Regions from separate parts of the Homo sapiens genome. Here regions 2 and 3 are each linked to region 1. Evidence: promoter capture Hi-C in human tissues and cell types (Jung and others, 2019). All regions are on one chromosome and are shown on one strand. The core of a region is centred on a gene start or on the middle of the fragment in contact, and the rest is flanking DNA. Distances in the headings are between cores, read along the strand shown.

Evidence for each region. Contacts are between HindIII fragments. The study calls those that stand out against the background at their distance.
Region 2: a fragment that was not itself captured here is called in contact with the fragment with the promoter of RPL8 in region 1 in 3 of the 25 tissues and cell types used here (H1 embryonic stem cells, lymphoblastoid cells and small bowel).
Region 3: a fragment that was not itself captured here is called in contact with the fragment with the promoter of RPL8 in region 1 in 1 of the 25 tissues and cell types used here (dorsolateral prefrontal cortex).

The regions. Positions count from the first base shown.
Region 1 is chr8:144,789,938-144,794,306 of GRCh38, forward strand. It overlaps RPL8 (ribosomal protein L8), which reads right to left and starts at 2,453. Exons shown (of 5, transcript NM_001317782.2): 1 at 2,055-2,453; 2 at 1,836-1,977; 3 at 1,340-1,558; 4 at 418-533; 5 at 1-25. The coding sequence starts at 2,192. MIR6850 (microRNA 6850) reads right to left here and starts at 2,054; the gene lies at 1,994-2,054. RefSeq lists enhancers at 131-632, 633-1,132, 3,545-4,369 and a silencer at 2,155-2,374. The HindIII fragment of the contact is 17,129 bases long and covers 719-4,369 here.
Region 2 is chr8:145,017,717-145,022,085 of GRCh38, forward strand. No RefSeq gene overlaps it. Among named protein-coding and RNA genes, the nearest start is that of ZNF252P-AS1, 17 kb to the left of the region's middle. The HindIII fragment of the contact is 6,395 bases long and covers 1-4,369 here.
Region 3 is chr8:144,658,117-144,662,485 of GRCh38, forward strand. The region is part of intron 1 of ARHGAP39 (Rho GTPase activating protein 39); the gene reads right to left. Among named protein-coding and RNA genes, the nearest start is that of ARHGAP39, 26 kb to the right of the region's middle. The HindIII fragment of the contact is 7,618 bases long and covers 1-4,369 here.

The sequences.
Region 1 (4,369 bases), core at 1,203-3,702:
CACCTCCAAAAGGATGCTCCACAGGCTGCAGGCAGAGAAAGATGGCTTTAGAAACCTCTTCCCCACCACCCCCGCCCCCGGCCTCGGGGTCCCACCCGTCAGGGGCCCAATTCCGCGAAGCCCCTCTCCACAGCATGTGCCGCTAGACAACCCCAGTCAGGCTGACTCTTTCCAGCTCAGGCCCCCACTGCCCCTCCCAGCCTCCGTTTCTTGCGGAGAAACGGTGAAGGAGGGTGAGCCCACCTCCTTCAGGAGTGCTGGAGCAGGATCAACAGTCCCGTGACTACAAACCACCACCTGCTGCTCCTCCCACCGTAGATCCCCCTCCTGCAGGGACACCTGTGGATGGGACTTGCCTACCCAACAGTGTGGCCACTGTAACTTCAATACCCAACCCTGCATTTCTGGGTTACTTACATTCATGGCCACACCCCGTACTCGTGGCCAGCAGTTCCTCTTTGCCTTATATTTGTGGTACGCCCGGCCAGCCTTCAAGATGGGTTTGTCAATTCGGCCACCTCCAGCCACCACACCTGTAGGGGATCAGATACCTCAGGGAACCCCCAGTCGGTCAGAGCACCCCCACCTCCCCTCAATCTCCTGTCATGCACCTTCCCAATACTGCATCCAACTACCCAGCAAAAAGCCCACTCGCCTCCACCCTAGGGAGCCCCTTGCACCCTGTGAGCTGACATCCAGTTTCTTCAATCCACAATGGGCAGGCAAGCCAAGGCCCTCACCTCCATCACCTAGAATGCTGGCTGAGCTCCAAGCGCAGGGAAGCACCCCCCTCACCATGTGTGAGACGTCAGGCCGGCCACTCAACCTGACGTAAGACACTTGATTCAGCCTGCCCCATCTCAGCTTTACTTATTCCAGGAACACAACCTCAGAGCCTCCCCTGTGCGAGGCTGAGTTCATCACAAGGATTCCAAGATGTTCCCAAACAGCACAGTGAGTTAACCTAGACTCAAATCCTTTTTCACTCACTCAGTAGGCGTCTTTGAGAAAGCCACAATCTCTCCCTGCCTTCTCTAAAAAGGCTGTTAACCAACTGCATGCAAGTGCAGCAATCAGGAAGCCCACGGTAGAATCCAAGACCCTGGTGACTTCGTCCCAATCTCATTTAACGCCTCAACAGCAGTAAAGCAGGTACTGTTGTGCCTGTTGTACAGTGATGACAACTGAGACTACAGGATGAGCTCAAACTTACAGAACCCAAGTTTTAGAACAACAGGTAATCGAATTCCAGGGACCAAGTCTAGCCACTGGCTGTCCACCGGCACTCACAGCATGTTCACCCACAGCCCTCAGCATTCAACTGCTGCCTGATACTCACCAACCACAGCTCTGTTGGCTGAGGAGATAACCTTCTTGGAGCCGGAGGGCAGCTTCACACGGGTCTTCTTGGTCTCAGGGTTGTGGGAGATAACGGTGGCATAGTTCCCTGATGCCCGGGCCAGCTTGCCACGGTCTCCAGGCTTCTCCTCCAGGCAGCACACGATTGTACCCTCAGGCATGGTGCCCACAGGGAGCACATTGCCAATGTTGAGCTGGGCTGCAAGGGGAAGCAGCATCAGGCCGTCAGCACAGTAAGAAACAATGCGAACCCCCTCGCTCTAGGCAACCCGCGAAGTTGCGAGCACAGCATTCAACATCCAGCCTCCCGGTACAACTCTCTCGGCACCCACCGGTGGCCACTGGTCTGGCCACGCGGATGTCCCCACCTGAAGCTTCTGCCTGCGAGGTTCCCATATCGGCTTAGGACGTTAACTCCTCAGGCAACACCCAGACCCCTCCCCACCCCGACCTTCCTTCCCCGCCGCGATGCTAACCCTTCTTGCCGCAATACACAAACTGGCCCGTGTGAATGCCCTCGGCGGCAATGAACAGCTCCGTCCGCTTCTTAAACCGATACGGATCCCGGAAGACCACCTTGGCGAGGGGCGCGCCGCGGCCCGGGTCGTGGATGATGTCCTGTGGGCAGAGGCGGCGTGAGTGCGGCGTTCCGGCCGGGCGTCCCTTCCCCTCCCGCCCCGGCCAGCGTTCCGCACCTTGACGATGCCCTTGATGTAGCCGTGCCGCTCAGCGAAATCCACGGCGCGCAGGCGCGCAGCGCCTTTACGGTGCTTCACGTGCGCGCGGAACACAGACCCGGCGCCCTTCCTCTGTCCACGGATCACACGGCCCATGGCGACGGGTCCTGGGGGCGACTCACGATTAGCGCGGCCGGGCGGCCCGGGTACCCCCGCCAGCCCGGCTTTCCGGGACCCCGCCCCCGAGGCCGCCGCGCCCACCACTCCCTACCCTCTCCGCGGGCGCCCGCACCGGCATCCTCTCAGGAGGGCCGGTCCGGGTCTCAGCGCGCCTCACGGAAGAGGATGGCGGCGGATACTGCCCATGCCGCAAGGCCGCAAGGATGACCTACCTGTTCACCAGCGCGGCCGAAAGAGGAAACACGGCGTCAGCGAGCGGCCTTATCTTCCGGGGCGGGGCCCAGGGCCGCGACACCTTCCGGGCGCGCCACGGCCAGCCTAGCGCGGTGCACGCCGGGGCTTGTAGTCACCAGCGGCCGCCGGCCCCGCCTACTTCTCCTCCTCCAGGGCCCCCGCGCAGGCGCACCAGGAGACGCGGCTGAAGGTGTCCTGGTGTGCGTGGGCTCGGAAGGAGGGTGCAGGAGTGCTCGGCTTTCACCGGGGTCTCCGGGAGGGCAGGTGTTTTCTGAGTGGCCGAGGAGGCGCCAAGTGGTTGAGTGACCTGTCCAGGGTGTCACAGAGCGACCCACTCCGGGCCACGGGGTCTGGGGCTCCCGGCTTGCCTGGTGAGGGGCTTCCGTGTAGGCCGAGGGGGTTCTCGCTGGTGCAGAGCAGGAGATGGGCAGGGGAGACGCGTGGACCCACTCGTGGAACGTCATGGTTTGCAGGTGGCAAATGTCCGTCTCCCTGATGAACGGGCGCTTCTGGACGCGGGGACCTTATCCACTGTAGGCCCTTGGAGAGGTCGGGCGTCGAGGAGAGGAGCCCCGGGATCCTTGCCGAGGGTGAGGGCCGGCCGGCCCAGGAAGTGGGGAGGGCCAAGCTGGAGGGTCCCGGGTCGAGGAAGAAGGAGCGGGGATGGGCTGGGTCACATGCTGCGGAGTGGACGAATAATGGGAGACTGGACCGTACCCTGACCAGAACCCTGTGCGGGAGAGGTGGGGAAGGAGCAAGAAATGGAGGCTGGGAGGGGCTGTGGGGGCCTGAGCTGGAAAGAGTCAGCCCGACTGGGGGTGTCCTGCGGTACGTGCTGTGGAGAGGGGCTTCGCGGAATCGGGCCCCTAACGGGTGGGACCCCGAGGCCGCGGGTGGGGGATGGTGGGGAAGAGGTTTTCCAGGAGAGAGTCCCTGGCTGAGTGAGCACTGTCGAGCACACGCGAGGCCGTGGGTGGGGAGGCAGCAAGGAGGTGAAGGCGGGGGTCCCAGTGGGCGGGAGAGGCTTGCTGTCGGTACTGGGAGGTGGGGTGTTTCCTAGACCCTGCAGGGGCTGAGGCAGGGTTGACATCGTGAGAAGGAGACAGGAGAGGGTGGAAGGGTGTCCTGTGCCCGCTGTTGCTCACAGGGGAGAGGAGGGGCTGCTGCAGGAGGCCCTCCCCTAGGGTCGGCAGGGGGATGGAGGAGGAGCTGCCCGGTGGGGACTCAGGAAGCAGCACAGCCCACAGCTAGGGCCAGGGGCTGAGGGGCAGGACTGGACCCTGGGGGCAGGGTGAGGGGTTCTGGGGTCAGCCCAAAATTGGCCCACAGGCCCAGCCTGTCCGTCACTCCTGAACAAATCTGCTTCTCTGGAGGAGCAGAAGGAGAGTTGGGTGCGGGATAGAGGTGAGAAGAGTGCTTGGACACACAGGCTGTGGGGTCCCCAAGATGGTCTCACGGGTCTCTGGGATGAGATGCGGCTACCAAGACCCTACGTGCAGCCAGGAGACTGACCAGGCCGCTTTAAGGCTGGAAGAGACATGGCCCTGCCAGCATCCACCTGACAGTCCTGAGGACTGTGTGACTGGGCTCAGTCTTGACCTTCACGGGAGACCACACAGCCTGGTACACAGCAGGGGCTATGCAGTTCTGGGTCACTTGACAGCCACTCCAGACGAGGCCGCAAGCACTGGACATGGGGTTTTCCAGCCTTCTGGGGTGGAGCCATCTTTCTTAGGCCAGGATTAGTCCCTCCCCACACAGTGCCTCTGCTTGTGCTAGTGGCCTGGTGACCTCCCTTATGCCATCCGACGTCACCCCAACCTGCTGTTCAAACTTTATTGTTAGAAATTATTTATTTCCGGCCGGGTGCGGTGGCTCATGCCTGTAATCCCAGCACTTTGGGAGGCCGAGGCAGGCGG
Region 2 (4,369 bases), core at 1,375-3,874, 230 kb after region 1:
TCTCTGCACATGAGATGGGTCTCCTGAATACAGCACACTGATGGGTCTTGACTCTTTATCCAATTTGCCAGTCTGTGTCTTGTAATTGGAGCATTTAGCCCATTTACATTTAAGGTTAATATTGTTATGTGTGAATTTGATCCTGTCATTTTGAGTTAGCTGGTTATTTTGCTCATTAGTTGATGCAGTTTCTTCCTAGCATCGATGGTCTTTACAATTTGGCATGTTTTTGCAGTGGCTGGTACTGGTTTTTCCTTTCCATGTTTAGTGCTTCCTTCAGGAGCTCTTGTAAGGCAGGCCCAGTGGTGACAAAATCTCTCAGCATTTGCTTGTCTGTAAAGGATTTTATTTCTCCTTCACTTATGAAGCTTAGTTTGGCTGGATATGAAACTCTGGGTTGAAAATTCTTTGCTTTAAGAATGTTGAATATTGGCCTCCACTCTCTTCTGGCTTGTAGAGATTCTGCTGAGAGATCCACTGTTAGTCTGGTGGGCTTCCCTTTGTGGGTAACTCGACCTTTCTCTCTGGCTGCCCTTAACATTTTTTCCTTCATTTCAACTTGGGTGAATCTGACAATTATGTGTCTTGGAGTTGCTCTACTTGAGGAGTATCTTTGTGGCATTCTCTGTATTTCCTGAATTTGAATGTTGGCCTGCCTTGGTAGGTTGAGGAAATTCTCCTGGATAATATCCTGAAAACTGTTTTCCAACTTTGTTCCATTCTCCCCATCACTTTCAGGTACACCAATCAGATGTAGATTTGGTCTTTTCACATAGTCCCATATTTCTTGGAGGCTTTGTTCCATTTCTTTTTACTCTTTTTTCTCTAAACTTCTCTTCTCACATCATTTCATTCATTTGATCTTCAATCACTGATACCCTTTCTTCCAGTTGATTGAATCAGCTACTGAAGCTTGCACATGTAGTTCTCGTGCCATGGCTTTCAGCTCCATCAGGTCATTTAAGGTCTTCTCTACCCTGGTTATTCAGTTAGCCATTCGTCTAATCTTTTTTCAAGGTTTTTAGCTTCTTTGTGATGGGTTCAAACATCCTCCTTTAGCTCAGAGAAGTTTGATCATCTGAAGCTTTCTTCTCTCAACTCATCAAAGTCATTCTCCATCCAGGTTTGATCTATTGCTGGTGAGGAGCTGCATTCCTTTGGAGGAGAAGAGGTGCTCTGATTTTTAGAATTTTCAGCTTTTCTGCTCTGGCTTCTCCCCATCTTTGTGTTTTTATCTACCTTTTGTCTTTGATGATGGTCACGTACAGATGGGGTTTTGGTGTGGATGTACTTTTTGTTTGTTAGTTTTCCTTCTAATAGTCAGAACCCTCAGCTGCAGGTCTGTTGGAGTTTGCTGGAGGTCCACTCTAGATCCTGTTTGCCTGGATATGACCAGTAGAGGCTACAGAATAGCGAATATTGCAGAATAGCAAATGTTGCTGCCTGATCATTCCTCTGGAAGCTTCATCTCAGAGGGGTACCCGGCCGTGTGAGGTATCAGTCAGCCCCTACTGGGAGGTGCCTCCCAGTTAGGGTACTCAGGTGTCAGGGAGCCACTTGAGGAGGCAGTCTGTTTGTTCTCAGATCTCAAACTCCATGCTGGGAGAACCACTACTCTCTTCAAAGCTGTCAGACAGGGACATTTAAGTCTGCAGAAGATTCTGCTGCCTTTTGTTCAGCTATGCCCTGCACCCAGAGGTGGAGTCTGCAGAGGCTGGTAGGCCTCCTTGAGCTGCAGTGGGCTCCATCCAGTTCAAGCTTCCCAGCCGCTTTGTTTACCTACTGAAGTCTCAGCAATGGTGGGCGCCCCTCCCCCAGCCTTGCTGCCACCTTGCAGTTCGATCTCAGACTGCTGTGCTAGCAATGAGCAAGGCTCCATGGGTGTGGGACCCTCCAAGCCAGGTGTAGGAAATAATCTCCTGGTGTGCCATTTGCTAAGACCATTGGAACAGCACAGTATTAGGGTGGGAGTGACCCGATTTTCCAGGTGCCATCTGTCACAGCTTCCCTTGGCTAGGAAAGGGAATTCCCTGACCCCTTGCACTTCCCAGGTGAGGTGGTGCCTTGCCCTGCTTCAGGTCTCACTCGGTGGGCTGCACCCACTGTCCTGCACCCACTGTCTGACAAGCTCCAGTGAGATGAACCTGGTATTTCAGTTGGAAATGCAGAAATCACCTGTCTTCTGCATCGCTCATGCTGGGAGCTCTAGACTGGAACTGTTCCTATTTGGCCATCTTGGAACCTCCCATGTAGGTTACCATTTTTAGGGGTGGTCACTGTTGAGCCTCCAAGTCCTATTCCCTTAAAATGGAAGACCCAAAATCCTGTTTGGGTTGAGCTGTGGCCACTTACTCAGGAAAAATTGGGGGCCTTACAGGAATTAGTCAAAGAGCAATTAAACAAAGGAAGCATTGAGCCCACATTTTCTCCATAGAATTTGCCGGTGTTTGTAATAAAGAAAAAATCCAGCAGATGGCGCATGCTAACCGACTTACGTGTGGTGAACACATTCATTCAGCTGATTGGGGCCCTGCAGCTGGGGCTTCTATCCCCCACCATGATTCCTAGAGACTGGCCATTAGTAATTATAGATTTGAAGGATTGCTTTTTAAATATTCTTCTAGCAGAGTCTGATTTTGTGAAATTTGCTTTTACTATTCCTGCTATGAACAACAAGGAACCAGCAGCCAGATATCATTGGAAAGTCCTGCTGCAGGATATGTTGAATAGTCCTACTATTTGTCAAACTTTTGTGGGGAAGGCTATTCCACCTGTGAGAGATCAGTTTCCTGATTCATATATCATTCATTTTATGGATGACATATTGGGTACGGTCAAAAGTTAAGACTGACTTATCCAGTGTTATTCATATTTACAGGAGGTGGTAGCCAATGCTGGATTGCTCATAGCACCAGATAAAATTCAAACATCCACTCCTTTCCAATATTTGGGAATGCAGGATCAGGAAAGGGCAATTAGACCCCAAGAGGTTCAAATTCAAAAAGACTCTCTGAAAACTTTAAATGATTTTCAAAAATTATTAGGGGATATCAATTGGATTTGACCTCCTTTGGGAATCCCTACCTATGCTATGTCTAATCTGTTCTCTATTTTAAGAGGTGACCCTGCTCTCAATAGTAAATGAGAACTGACTCCTGAGACTGCCAAAGAATTACAAATGATTGAAGAAAAAATACAACAGGCCCAGGTTAATAGAATAGACTCAAATTTACCATTACAGTTCATTGTGTTCCCTACTCTCCATTCTTCTACAGGGGTTACAGTTCAGAGTGAGGACTTAGTTGAATGGTCTTTTCTGCCTCACAATACTGTTAGAACACTCACAGTATACTTGGATCAGATGGCAATCTTGATTGGGCAAGCTCACCTTAGAGTTGTTAAACTTTGTGGCTCAGATCCAGATAAGATTATAGTTCCAATGAATAAAAATCAGATTTGGAAAGCCTTTGTTAATTCAGTCAATTGGCAAATAGATTTAGCTGGCTTCATTGGAGTTCTTGATAATCTGAAGGGGTGGCCTGCCCCTCCACACCTGTGGGTATTTCTAGTCAGGTGGGATGGGAGACTGAGAAAAGAAATAAGACACAGTGACAAAGTATAGAGAAACAACAGTGGGCCCAGGAGAGCGGCACTCGGCACACCAAGGACCTGCACCGGCACCGGTCTCTGAGTTCCCTCAGTTTTTATTGATTATTATTTTCATGATTTCAGCAGAAAGGAATGTAGTAGGAGAGCAGGGTGATAATAAGGAGAAGGTCAGCAAAAAGCATGTGAGCAAAGGAATCTATGTCATAATTAAGTTCAAGGGAAAGTACTATGCCTGGATGTGCACATAGGCCAGATTTATGTTTCTCTCCACCCAAACATCTCAGTGGAGTAAAGAATAACAAGGCAGCATTGCTGCCAACATGTCTCACCTCCCACCATAGGGCGGTTTTTCTCCTATCTCAGAATTGAACAAATGTACAATCGGGTTTTATACCAAGACGTTCAGTTCCCAGGGGCAGGCAGGAGACAGTGGCCTTCCTCTATCTCAACTGCAAGAGGCTTTCCTCTTTTACCAATCCACCTCAGCACAGACCCTTTACGGGTGTCGGGCTGGGGGACAGTCAGGTCTTTCTCATCTCATGAGGCCATATTTCCGACTATCACATGGGGAGAAACCTTGGACGATACCCAGCTTTCAAGGGCAGAGTTCCCTGTGGGTTTCTGCAGTGCATTATGCCTGTGGTTTGTTGACACTAGAGAATGGCAATGACTTTTGCCAAGTATACTGCTTGTAAACATTTTGTTAACAAGGCACATCCTGCACAGCCCTAGATCCCTTAAACCTTGACTTCATACAACA
Region 3 (4,369 bases), core at 1,006-3,505, 130 kb before region 1:
TCTTTCTTTCGAGACAAGGTTTTGCTCTTTTTGCCCAGGCTGGAGTGAAATGGCGCGATCTTGGCTCACTGTAACCTCCGCCTCCCAGGTTCAGGTGATTCTCCTGCCTCAGCCTCCCAAGTAGCTGGAATTACAGGTGTCCACCACCACACCCGGCTAATTTTTTTTTTTTTTTGAGACAGAGCTTTGCTCTTGTTGCCCTGGCTGCAGTGCAATGGTGCGATCTTGGCTCACCACAACCTCCACCTCCTGGGTTCAAGCAATTCTCCTGCCTCAGCCTCCCAAGTAGCTGGGATTACAGGCATGTGCCACCATGCCCAGCTAATTTTGTATTTTTTAGTAGAGATGGGATTTCTCCATGTTGGTCAGGCTGGTCTCTAGCTCCTGACCTCAGGTGATCTGCTCGCCTCGGCCTCCCAAAGTGCTGGGATTATAGGTGTGAGCTACTGCGCCTGGCCACTACAGCATTTTTTAATCAGGGACCTGATCATCCTTGAATTTTGGTATCCACAGGGTGTCCTAAAACCATTCCCCATGGACACTGAGGGATGACTGTGTATCATAACAAACAGCGAAAGACTGACTGCTTTCCCCTCACTACTCTAACATGACACATTACCGGAGGTCCTAGCCAGTGCAATAAGGCAGGAAAAAGAAAAGGTAGAAGGATTAGGAAAGAAGAAATAAAACTATATTCATAGACAAAATGATTATATATGTAAAAAAATTAAAACATTAAATATTAATGTTTAATATTGGGGTAAATATTAAATTTAACCAATATTAGAAATAAGTTTGGCAAAATACATGCACTGAGTAGTACAAAGTACTGATGAAAGACATTTAAGAGGACCTGAATCATGGGGAGGTGTACCAGGTTCATGGATGTGGCAGCCCAACAGGGTTAGGGTGTAATAGCCCCATTGTCTTTCTGTCCAATCCTATTCTGTTCACTCACTCCACAGGTGCTAATCCCAAAAGCATTCCTCAGTAAACTTCCTAAAGACAAATCAACTCAGAGTCCACTTCCCAGGGAACTCGACACAAACAGCAATTAATAATATACACTGTAAAGGACATAATTACTGTAATCAAAATGACAGGCAGCTAGATAACCAGCAACATGCTGACCAGAGCCATTAGCCTACCACCAGCCTAACCACACATTCACACCCTGAAGGCTTGGAGGAAACACCTGGTAACTCCCAACACGTGCTGGGAAGCTGCTCATTTGAAGAATGCTTCTTAACACAATTAGATATGATCAAACGATGTTGCCTTTTTCAATCGTTTTTGACCTACAAAAAACTAAAGTTTCACGTGTTCAACTTTCTGTTTCCATTGAGTCCTGTCTTAACCATGACAAAACGTCTCTGAGGCCAATGAGTGCCCACTTTTCAATCACACCAGCCCTCTGATCTAAGAGTGGAGAGACAAGTGTTATTTCTAAGTCAATGTTCCAAGTTCAAGCTTAATTGGAGGACATTTTCTAGACTATTTCATGGGACCTAAACAAAGCAATCAGAGAATCCCAAACAATTTTTTGCAAAATCTTCCGGCCTTGGCTTATTCGCTGGTTCTGATGCTCTGCCACCCCTTCACAGCTCACTGACACATGCTCTCTGCAGAGCTAAGCTAACAATTGCTTCTCTCATCCCCATTCTCTGGCTGTCTTGAGGGGTCCACTTATTCAAGCCCCACTCTAACTGTGGGACGCCCCAAGATGCATTTCCCTCTACATGCTACCCTTTGAACTCCTCATTCTGTTCCCCCAGTCTCCGTTATAATCCCTCTGTAGCTAAGTCCCAATTCTCTACCCAACCACCTCTCTCCCAAATGCCAGGTTCACCTCAGTTTACAAATGCCAGATGGACATTCCTTGGGTGGTGTTCCCTCACCTGAATCACAATGCTCCTCCTCCCCAGATCACTCTTCCCAACCACCACATGCACTTGCATTGTGCATCTCTTTCTGTCCACAGCACATGCCACTCTGCCCCCGACCCCTGGGTCAAAGGTGTGGAATGCTCCCGTGTCTCCTCCTCCTGGACCCTAGGTCTCCACCACTGTCCATCCCATCCAGGGCACCTTGGCGTCAGCTCTGCAGCACCTATTCCCACAAGCCTGAATGGTCTCTCACAAATTCAAGACTGAATTCCCTCTTGCTGGCCTCTGGTTAAATAATATAAGATTATTCATGCTTTCAGCCTTTCCTCCCCTAACCCCATCTCACCCCTACTACCATATTAAAGAATCTCCAAAAAAGCCAGCCAAGGTCACATCACTTTCATCGTGATAAGCATTCACTGGTGCCTCTAAAATAAAGGGACAATCCTTGCATGAGCACATTCCTTGGAACTGCACTGTGCAACACACTAGTCACTTGTCACTATGCTTAAAGTAAAGTTGAGTAATATTTAATACTCAGTCTTGCAAGCCATGATTCCGTGCTCAGCAGCCACACATAGGACAGCAGGCTCTAGAAAACACTTCTCTCAGGATCTTGGCCCAGACTGACTTCCTACTTCTGCTCTGTTCCAATAAAAACCATCTCTAAATAAATAAATGAATAATTTTTTAAAAGGCTGGGTGGGTGGCTCACCCCTATAATCCCAGCACTTTGGGAGGCCGAGGCAGGCAGATCACTTGAGGTCAGGAGTTTGAGACCAGTCTGGCCAACATGGTGAAATCCTGTCTCTACTAAAAATACAAAAAAAACTTAGCTGAGAGTGGTGGTGTCCATCTGTAGTCCCAGCTACTCGGGACGCTGAGGCAGGAGAATTGCTTGAACCTGGGAGGTGGAGGTTTGCAGTGAGCTGAGATTGTGCCATCGCACTCCAGCCTGGGTGACAGAATGAGACTCCATCTCAAAAAAAAAATAGGCATGGTGGCACACGACTCTGTAGTCCCAGCTGCTCAGGAGACTGAGGCAGGAGGATCACCTGTGCCCAGGAGATGGAGGCTGCAGTCCAGTCTGGCTGCAGACGGCCCTCTCAGCACCGCCGTGAAAACACATGCAGTCCTACACAGGGTCCCAGCAGCTTCACCCACTCCGGGACCACCATGGCCCCTTCACACACAGGCAGTGTGGAGCAGAGGAGGCCATTCCACTCTACACACAGGAGGAGGCCATTCCACTCTACACACACAAGGCTCCCAAAGCTCTGTGAGCAACATCTCAGCCTCTCCCCGGCTCCTCTTTGCGCATTCGCGCGTGACACTCCTGCAGAGGTGGGCTCCACACACCAGCCACCTGGCCTCGGTCTCTTTCCTTCTAACAGGAACAGCACCCTCACTCCTGTGATAGTCTCAACTCTCTTGGGCCCATGCTTACCTGGCAAACACCTGTGGTTAACCCAGCACTCCCCATCCACACCTGCCGCTAAACACATTCAGAGGAAAACAGCCTCTAACCAGCCTTCCCCTTTCTCCCCTCCCAATCCTCACACCAGCCCAAGGCCTGAGGCCATCTGGCCACCAGGCTGGTCTCGAACTCCTGCCCTCAACTGATCTGCCCGCCTCAGCCTCCCACAATACTGAGACTATAGGTGGGAGCCACCATACAAATGAATGAATGAACGAGACGGGGTTTGCTGTGTTGCCCAGGCTGGAGTGCAGTGGTGTGATCACAGCTCACTGCAGCCTTGGGCCACTACCCGCCTCTCCATTATCCACCTTGGACCCCTCCTGTGTCTCTATTATCCACCTTGAACTGTTCCCTCCTCCCCATTATCCACCTCGAACTGCTCCCTCTCCCCACTATTCACCTTGGACAACCCCCCACCCCGCCCCCCTTTCCGCATCTCCATTATCCACCTTGGACAGCTTCCTCTTCCCCGTTATCCACTTTGGACTGCTCACCCTCCCCATTATCCACCTTGGGCCTCTTCCCTCATCCCCATTATCCACCTTGGACCGTTCCCCACATCCCATTATCTGCCTTGGACCACTCCCCACTCCCCATTATCTGCCTTGGCTTGCTCCCCTTCCCCATTATCCAACTTGGACCGCTCACCTTCCCCATTTTCCACCCTGGGTCACTTTCTCTCCCCATTATCCACCTTGGATCACTCCACCCTCCCCATTATCCGCCTTGGACCGCTCCCCCGTCAGCATTATCCACCTTGAACCCCTCCTTCCTCCCCATTATCCACCTTGGACCATTCCCCGACTCCCCGTTTATCCACCTTGGACCACTCCCCCTCCCTACTATCCGCCTTAGAGCGATTCCCCTCTCCCCGTTATCCACCTTGGACCACGTTCCACTCCCCATTATTATCCAGCTTGGACAGCTCTCCCCTCCCCATCATCCACCTTGGGCCGCTACCCGCCTCCCCATTATCCACCTTGGGTCACTCCTCCCCTCCCCA